Linked DNA regions of Homo sapiens: all the other regions are linked to region 1. The links are contacts of gene promoters, found by promoter capture Hi-C in human tissues and cell types (Jung and others, 2019). All regions are on one chromosome and are shown on one strand. The core of a region is centred on a gene start or on the middle of the fragment in contact, and the rest is flanking DNA. Distances in the headings are between cores, read along the strand shown.

What was found. The method cuts DNA at HindIII sites, captures the fragments that hold promoters and counts their contacts. A contact is called where the count stands out against the background at its distance.
Region 2: a contact is called between a fragment that was not itself captured here and the fragment with the promoter of RAET1E in region 1, in 1 of the 25 tissues and cell types used here (aorta).
Region 3: a contact is called between a fragment that was not itself captured here and the fragment with the promoter of RAET1E in region 1, in 1 of the 25 tissues and cell types used here (aorta).

The regions. Positions count from the first base shown.
Region 1 is chr6:149,896,682-149,899,545 of GRCh38, forward strand. RAET1E (retinoic acid early transcript 1E) reads right to left here and starts at 1,432. Exons shown (of 6, transcript NM_001394057.1): 1 at 1,340-1,432. The region is part of intron 1 of RAET1E-AS1 (RAET1E antisense RNA 1); the gene reads left to right. RefSeq lists a silencer at 1,692-1,986. The HindIII fragment of the contact is 8,770 bases long and covers 1-2,864 here.
Region 2 is chr6:149,736,452-149,739,315 of GRCh38, forward strand. It overlaps NUP43 (nucleoporin 43), which reads right to left. Exons shown (of 8, transcript NM_198887.3): 5 at 2,192-2,327; 6 at 20-171. Among named protein-coding and RNA genes, the nearest start is that of NUP43, 8.6 kb to the right of the region's middle. The HindIII fragment of the contact is 8,101 bases long and covers 1-2,864 here.
Region 3 is chr6:149,762,956-149,765,819 of GRCh38, forward strand. All of the region lies in intron 1 of PCMT1 (protein-L-isoaspartate (D-aspartate) O-methyltransferase), which reads left to right. Among named protein-coding and RNA genes, the nearest start is that of PCMT1, 15 kb to the left of the region's middle. The HindIII fragment of the contact is 5,916 bases long and covers 1-2,864 here.

The DNA of each region.
Region 1 (2,864 bases), core at 182-2,681:
GTGTGTGCGTGCATATGTGTGATATGACCACTGAGTAGCTCCTTAGCAGGGCCAATATTTTCTACAAGTCTGATGACTCACAGGAAGGAGCACACCAGGCCTATACTTGGGTCCTGACATCTGGGATGCCAACCTAACACTGAAGAAAAAGAAAGAGCTGCAGACAGGCTGGGAAAAATATACAGAAAGGGGAAAGGGGCCCTTCCACCTTTGTTGCCCTCTGTGGTCCTGAATCTCAGCTTGGCCTGAGCCAACCTGAAGATGGGAAGGAATAGCCATTTTCCAACTGCAAAATGTCAGCTTCAGGCAATGGTTTCAAAACTGAAGTAATGGTTACATATGAAGTAGATTTTTGTTTGTTTTGTTTTTTGAGACCAGGTCTTGCTCTGTCATCCAGGTGGAGTGCAGTGGCATGAGCACGGCTCACTGCAGCCTTGAACTCCCAGGCTCAATCAGTCCTTCCACTTCAGCCTCCAGAATAGCTGGCACTACAGGCATGAGCCACCACACCCAGCTAATTTTTAAATTTTTGGTGTGGAGATGGGGTCTCATCACGTTGCCCAGGCTGATCTCGAACTCCTGGGCTCAAACAATCCTCCCCCCTCAGCCTCCCAAAGTGTTGGGATTACAGGAGTGAGCCACCACACCCGGCTGAAATGGAATTTTAATTGAAGTAAGAAGCGGGTGATAAGGAAAGTGAAACCAATAATTTCACATAGTCCCTGGAAGCCCGTTGCTATAAAGAACTTTCAGCCTGAAGTCCAAAGAGAGACGAAAATTTTAAAATGAATTGGACTGCAGTTTTCAATCCCTGAAAATGAGTCACAGCCTTTTTGTGGCAGTGTGCCCTGGGCTTCTAACCGTCCTCTCCCTGCCCCAGCTGCCTTGAGGTCCCGGCCAATGGTTTCAACACTCAGGCTAGGAATGCCAAGGCCCGGCAGAGCGAGGCTGTGGAAGCCTTGGCATAAGCGGAAGGGAGGATCTGAGGGAGAATGGGACAAGAGAAGTCGGAAAGAAGGAGTTAGGGCAGGAGAACAAGGAGAAATCCCTGTCCCCCAAATTGGAGAGAGGGGCGATTGGGACTCCAGACTGGAAGGAGGCACGGATCCCTGAGTGCTTGGTGTGGAGGCAGAGGACCCGCAGAGCCACCCCGTCCTCCCTGCCTTATCCAGCGTCCCCGCCGCCACACCCCCAGCATCTCCCCCAACCCCACTTTTACTTCATTATCTGCCCCTGGTTCTCTCACCACTCGAGCCCCTGCTTTCCTCCTTCACTCCCAAACATGCACACGTTCCCTCTGCACGGGTGTTTGGAACACCAGCCATCCCCCACCCCCTACCTTGTGCCAGCAGGAGATGTTTGTCCTTCTGCCGTCTCTAGGATGGAGAGGCCTGAGGTGACTGCTTCCTCAGAGTCTCTGTGCAAACTCTCTGAGGAGCAGAAACCAGTTCAGTCTCTCTGGGTGTGGAGAGGCCGGCCTAGCAGAACACCCGTCCACCATGCAAACCGGGTGGGGCCACCTGTCAACTGTCACGTGTGAGTGATTCTAGGACAGGGTAACTCGTCCAGAATTGGATCCAATTCAGTACTGGATTCACCATCAGTAGAAGGACCAAGACCAGACTCAAGTCCCAGCCACGAAATTCTAGAAAGGATTTAATGTAATTTTAGCAGTTGTTGGAGACCAGCATGTGATGGCATACATATGTTTTCCTTGATATGTAGGTGGGGGCCCCCACCTTTTTTCAGGGTTTAGGCTTCTGCAGGTCCTGGCATAGCTGTGACAGCGGCCCTACCTCATTTCTGGTGGGTGCTGGCTCCCTCTATTGCTTGGTTTCTGTGCAAACACTGCATTATCGTCCTGCCCTCTTGAGACCTGGAGCTCCTGCCCCCTGAGCTCGTGTTCGCACTGTGTGTCACTGAACCTCGCTGTTTTCTTCTTGCAACTCCATTCCCCTCTGCAACTGGAAGACCAGCACTTCTCCTGAGTCTTCCTTAAAAGACACCCTGCCCACTTCCTTACAAAGCCCCCACCAAAGTGACACCAGCTACTTGTGAATGTAGCCAACTTTACTGAAGATTTAGAGGTTATGTTATAAGGCTGTGAATAATTTAAAAAAAAAATCACCTATTTGCTCGACCTCTTTCTTATCTCTTCTTTGGACTAGAAATAAAATATCTATGATTTGACCACACTGTCATCTAGTACTCGACCCTGGTTCTAGGCCACCGTCCTCCTGGCCAGGGTGATTGCAGTGCTGCCCTACTTGGTTCTCCGTGCCTGTCCCCACCTCCCAAATGGCTACAGCGCAGCCAGAGTGATCTTCAGAACCTCATCACTCACGCCCCCCTCTGCTCCAATTCTCCAAAAGTGCCCTTTTTCTCTCAGTAAAACCAAAGTCACTACAGATGCCTAGAGAGCCCTGCACAGTCTGGCCAGCTGTCCATTATGCCCCCTCACTCGCTCAGTTCCGACCTCCACCCTCGGCCTCCTTGCTGGTCTTCAGAGCCCTGCAGATGTCCCCGTGCCTTGGGACTTTGCATTGCCCTCCCTTCAGCATGGACTGCCCTTCAGGCATCTGCCCGGCTCACTCCCACTCCTGCTCCCAGGTGGCACACCCTTCCACGCCTGGTTCTCCCTGCCCCTCGCATTTGGAACCCTTGTATTTCTTTCTTTCTTTCTTTTTTTAAAATTGTGGTATGATTCATGTAACGTGATTTTTCATCTTAACCACTGTTAAATGTAAAGGCCTCTATTTCATAATGGGAGACCTCTGCCTGCCCAGGCCATCCTGGACCTTCTTCACCTGAACTTGTTCCCCTAAAGCAATGACCACTTTAAAACATACCTTAGTAAGCCGCGC
Region 2 (2,864 bases), core at 258-2,757, 160 kb before region 1:
GTATCTTCACAATACTTACTTTCAGCTTCATGAGCCTTCAGCAGAGATACAGGCATAGTACCTTGTCTAACATCCCAAATACTCAACATTCCATCTTGGCCACCAGTAGCTACAACATGCTGTTGGTTGGGATGTCTATCAACACAGTGGAGTGGCACTCGGTCACCAGTCCTTTTGTGGGAGATAACAATGACGTCAAAATCAAATAAAGTATAATTTATCTTTGTGTAACACAGGAAACACGTTTTTTGTTTGTTTTGAGACAAGGCCTCACTTACCCAGGCTGGAATGCAGCGCTGCAATCATTGCTTACTGTAGGCTCAAACTCCCTGGGCTCAGGTATCCTCCCACCTCAGCCTCCTGAGTTGCTGGGAGTACATGTGTGTACCATCATGCCTGGTTAACTTTTTGTATTTTTGTAGAGATGGGGTTTCTCCATGTTGCCCAGGTTGGTCTCAAACTCCCAGGCTCCAGTGATCTAGCCACCCTGGCCTTCCAAAGTGCTGGGATGACTGGTAACCGTGCCCAGCCTGTTTTTTTTTGTTTATTTTTTAAGAGACCAGGCTCAGTGGCTCACACCTGTAATCCCAGCACTTTGGGAGGCCAAGGCAGGTGGATGACTTGAGGTTCAAGACCAACCAGGCCAAAATGGCGAAACCCCATCTCTACTAAAAATACAAAAACTAGCCAGGCATGGTGGCACATGCCTGTAGTTCCAGCTACTTGGGAGGCTGAGGCATGAGAATCGCCTGAACCCAGTAGGCAGAAGTTGCAGTGAGCCAAGATCATGCCACTGCACTCCAGCCTGGGTGACAGAGTAAGACTCTGTCTCAAAGAAAAAAAAAAAAAAGAGAGACAGGGTCTTGTCTTGTCACCCAGGCTACAGTGCAATGGCCTATCTACAGCTTGCTGCAAGCTGGGCTCAAAAGAGCCTTTTGCCTCAGCCTCCCAAGTAGCTAGGACTACAGGCACATGCTACCGTGCCAGGCTATTTTAAGAAATTTTGGTAGAGATGGGGTCTCACTGTGTTGCCCTAGCTGGTCTCAAACTTCTCACCGCAGATAATCCTTCCAAAATGTTGGGATTACAGGCATGAGTCACCATGCTCAGCCAAGAAACATGTTTTATATGGTAACTAAGTGTCAACTTAGTGGCTGGAGCTACTGGCTGAATCTTTTTTTTATTTGAGACAGAGTTTTGTTCTTGTTGCCCAGGCTGGAGTGCAATGGCACGATCTTAGCTCACTGCAAACTCTGCCTCCCAGGTTCAAGTGATTCTCCTGCAAACTCTGCCTCCCAGGTTCAAGTGATTCTCCTGCAAACTCTGGCTCCCAGGTTCAAGTGATTCTCCTGCCTCAGCCTCCTGAGTAGCGGGGTCTATAGGCACGTGCCACCATGCCTGGCTAGTTTTTGTATTTTTAGTAGAGACGGGGTTTCACTGTGTTGGCCAGGCTGGTATTGAACTCCTGACCTCAAGTGATCTGCCTGCCTCGGCCTCCCAAAGTGCTGGGATTACAAGCATGAGCAACCACGCCCAGCCTGGCTGAATCTTAATGATACCAAAAAAAATGAACTAAATTAGATATATTTCTAAATAGTACAATTTTGAAATAATTCAAGGCCACAATTATTCATTTTCACTTCAATTTGGAGACATGGAATGAAAGACAATCCGATGGTAAGATGTACAAATCACATTTCCACTTGTTAAATTATTTAAAAACTCATACATCAATTATATACTAAATATTATTTATCATCTTATTTAATGCTTAGTTTATGTAACTATTTTTTCAGTGTGACACATTCTATTTTCTTACGAGAGAACGTTGTACACCTACAAAGGGGGATTTCTGCTCAGAAAAAATATTTGGAATTATATTTTTCCCCCAATCATTACATCTGGAGTATATTTTATCCATTAAACAATCATTGAAAGAGCAGAAATAAGTTCTCCATGAAATAATACAAACTTCAAAGAGTAAAGGCTCTGAATCACTATAACAAATAATTACTAAATGAAGCATAGTAGTACCAACCCCGTCAAGTTATGCTTGCTCTACCAAATTTTAATCAGGGATCTCCCTCTTAAAATGCAATTAAAATTCAATATGGCTTAAAGCCAGTAGCTATAAACAACCTAACACATTAATTTGTGGATTACATTACTGAAATTACAAATCAACACTTACAGTGACAATATCTGAGAAGGCTCATTTCCTTGTTGTCTGAAATCCCATATTTTCAACTGTCCAATTGAATTTACAGTAAGAATCTCAGGAGTTCGAAGAAAGGTTACAGCATGGAGTGTACTACTATCTGCATTGTCTAAAAATTTAAAAAATGGTAGTATGTGTTAATGAGTCCCCTTTTTTTCCCAAGAAAATCTTAAATCACACTCCTTTCATGGATTGATATATTACAATTTCCAGTAACTTATAATTTAAATTTCTATAGAAAAATGCATGGTTAATGTATATGTTTAAATGGATTCTCTTTGGATGGGAAAAACATTTACTCACAGGACATCTGAACTGTTTTCTGTTTCTTTTTTTTTTTTTTGCTCGTTGCCCAGGCTGGACTGCAATGGCGCGATCTCGGCTCACCGCAATCTCCACCTCTCGGATTCAAGCTATTCTCCTGCCTCAGCCTCCCAAATAGCTGGGATTAGAAATGTGCCACCACACCCAGCTAATTTTGTATGTTTAGTAGAGACTGGGTTTCTCCATGTTGGTCAGGCTGGTCTCGAACTCCCGACCTCAGGTGATCCACCAGCCTCGGCCTCCCAAAATGCTGGGATTACAGGCTTGAGCCACCACGCCTGGCCTACTGTTTTCTTTTTCTTTTTGTTTTTTGAGATGGATC
Region 3 (2,864 bases), core at 208-2,707, 130 kb before region 1:
GTATATCTATGATATATATGATATATATATCTATGATATATATGATATATATATCTATGATATATATGATATATCTATGATATCTATGATATGTATATCTATGATATATATATCTATGATATGTATATCTATGATATATATGATATATATATCTATGATATGTATATCTATGATATATATGATATATATATCTATGATATATATCTATGATATCTATGATATATATCTATGATATCTATGATATATATATCTATGATATCTATGATATAAATATCTATGATATCTATGATATATATATCTATGATATCTATGATATAAATATCTATGATATCTATGATATATATATCTATGATATATATATCATAGATTACCAATGACAGAAAAATTATTTAATAGCTTAGTAAATATATAATAGTTTGGTTTAAGCATCTTTTAGAACATGGGATCCTGGGCAAAAATAAATAATAAGAAACTTGTGAAAATTTTGGAAACCACCCAGTAATGCCTAAAAAAGCTTTATTCTGAGACATGATGGGTTCAGCTTTTTAATAAATGGCTGATGGCATGCTATTAATAACAATTTAGAGTTTTTAGTAACTTCCATATGCCTTCATATCTGTAGAGCCAAAGAAGCTCACATAAATTTGATAGAAGTATATTATCGAGCTTGAAGGAAGTGATTTCTTTAATTTACTTTGATTTTTAGAATGTGCCTCAAGTAAAATCTTTAAGATGTCACACTTTAAGTATCCATCTAGAGAAGAATGAATACAGTGAATATGATGATGGTTTCAAAAATTGATGAATAATTGGCAGTGTTGAGTGAAGCTGCCTAACCTGAAAAAAATAAAGCTGGAGGTAGTCCTGATTTATCTTTATGTAAAAAATGGTTGACTAGATAGAAATTCAATATATTCTTTGTGGCTTCAGAGAATAACACTAAGAGTGTCATGTGAGTGAATTATGAAAAGGGAGATTCATCTTAATACAGGGAAATTGTCTAATAATCAGAGTGGTCTGAATGAGCTAGTAAGAACCACAATAATGGAACTCTTTTAGAAGAGAATATGGTACCAATTTATGAAGTTAGACTCAATGGCTCCTAAAGCCTCTTGTGACTTTGAGAGTCTATGAATCACCCTCTGGGATTTGAATTAATTTCAGGGGAAATGAACCACTCAAGAATTATTTTGGGAAATGAATTAGTAGAACTCACTAAGCTATTTGAATATGTTAGTAGCAGTATAGTGAAGTGATCATAGAAATCTAACATCTTAATTTGAATAACCCTACCCCTTATTTGCTCTGTTATCTTGGACTACTTAACTAGTCTTTCTAACCTCAATGTTATGATCTGTCAAATGAAATAATAATAGTGCCTACTTTATAGGCTTATTTGAGACAACATAAGATTCTGTTTATTAGTACTGTATCTTTCACATGGTAAACATTAAGCGAATATCACTGCTATTATTACTCTGCTTTTAAAACTTTAAAAAAAAATGCTTTCAGGCTAGGGACAGGGGCTCACACCTGTAATCTCAGCTGAGGTGGGAGGATCACTTGAGGCCAGAAATTTGAGACCAGCCTGGGCAACATGGCAAGACCCACTCTCTAAAAAAAAACTTTTAAAAATTAGCCGAGTGTGGTGGCATGCACATGTAGGCCTAGGTGTTGGGGTGGCTAAGGCAGGAAGAGCACTGGAACTCAGGAGTCTGAGGTTATAATAAACTATGATGGTGCCACTGCACTCCAGCCTGGGCAACAAAGCCAGACCATATCTCTTTAAAAATTAAAAAATGGGGCCAGGCGCGGTGGCTGAACGCCTTTAATCCCAGCACTTTGGGAGGCCGAGGCGGGTAGATCACGAGATCAGAAGATCGAGACCATCCTGGCTAACACAGTGAAACCCCGTCTCTACTAAAAATACAAAAAATTAGCCAGTCGTGGTGGCGGGTGCCTGTAGTCCCAGCTACTCTGGAGGCTGAGGCAGGAAAACGGCGTGAACCCGGGAGGCGGAGCTTGCAGTGAGCCGAGATCGCGCCACTGCACTCCAGCCTGGCGAGAGTGAGATTCCGTCTCTAAATAAATAAATAAATAAATATAAAAAATAAAATAATGCGGCCAGGTGCGGTGGCTCACGCCTGTAATCCTAGCACTTTGGGAGGCCGAGGCGGGCGGATCCACGAGGTCAGGAGATCGAGACCATCCTGGCTAACACGGTGAAACCCCGTCTCTACTAAAAATACAGAAAATTAGCCGGGTGTGGTGGCGGGTGCCTGTAGTCCCAGCTACTCGGGAGGCTGAGGCAGGAGAATGGCGTGAACCCGGGAGGTGGAGCTTGCAGTGAGCCAAGATCGTGCCACTGCACTCCAGCCTGGGAGACAGAGCGAGACTCTGTCTCAAAAAAAAAAAAAAAAAAAATTAAAAAATGCTTTCAGTGTTTTATTCTAATTACCTTTTTGGGTAGCTTGCCTATGCTTCTTCGGGTAGAAATAATATTTTCTATTTGGGTAATTTATCCAAAATTTATATTTTAAAATGGAAAGACCATATAAGTTTGTCTTTGCTAGTTTATTACTATTTACATTGTTTTCTCTATTTGATGTGCCTTTTTTGCTAATTTTAAAAAATATTCATTGTTACTTGGAAAGTTTGTATTTATACCCTTTATAGTGTCGTTAATTGACCTTATTTTTTTATTTTTTATTTTTTATTTTTTATTTTTTTGCTAGGCATGATGGCTCATACCTGTAATACCAGCACTTTGGGAGGACGAGGAAGGTGGATCACCTAAGGTCAGGAGTTTGAGACCAGCCTGACCAACATGGTGAAACTCTGCCTGTACTAAAAATACAATATTA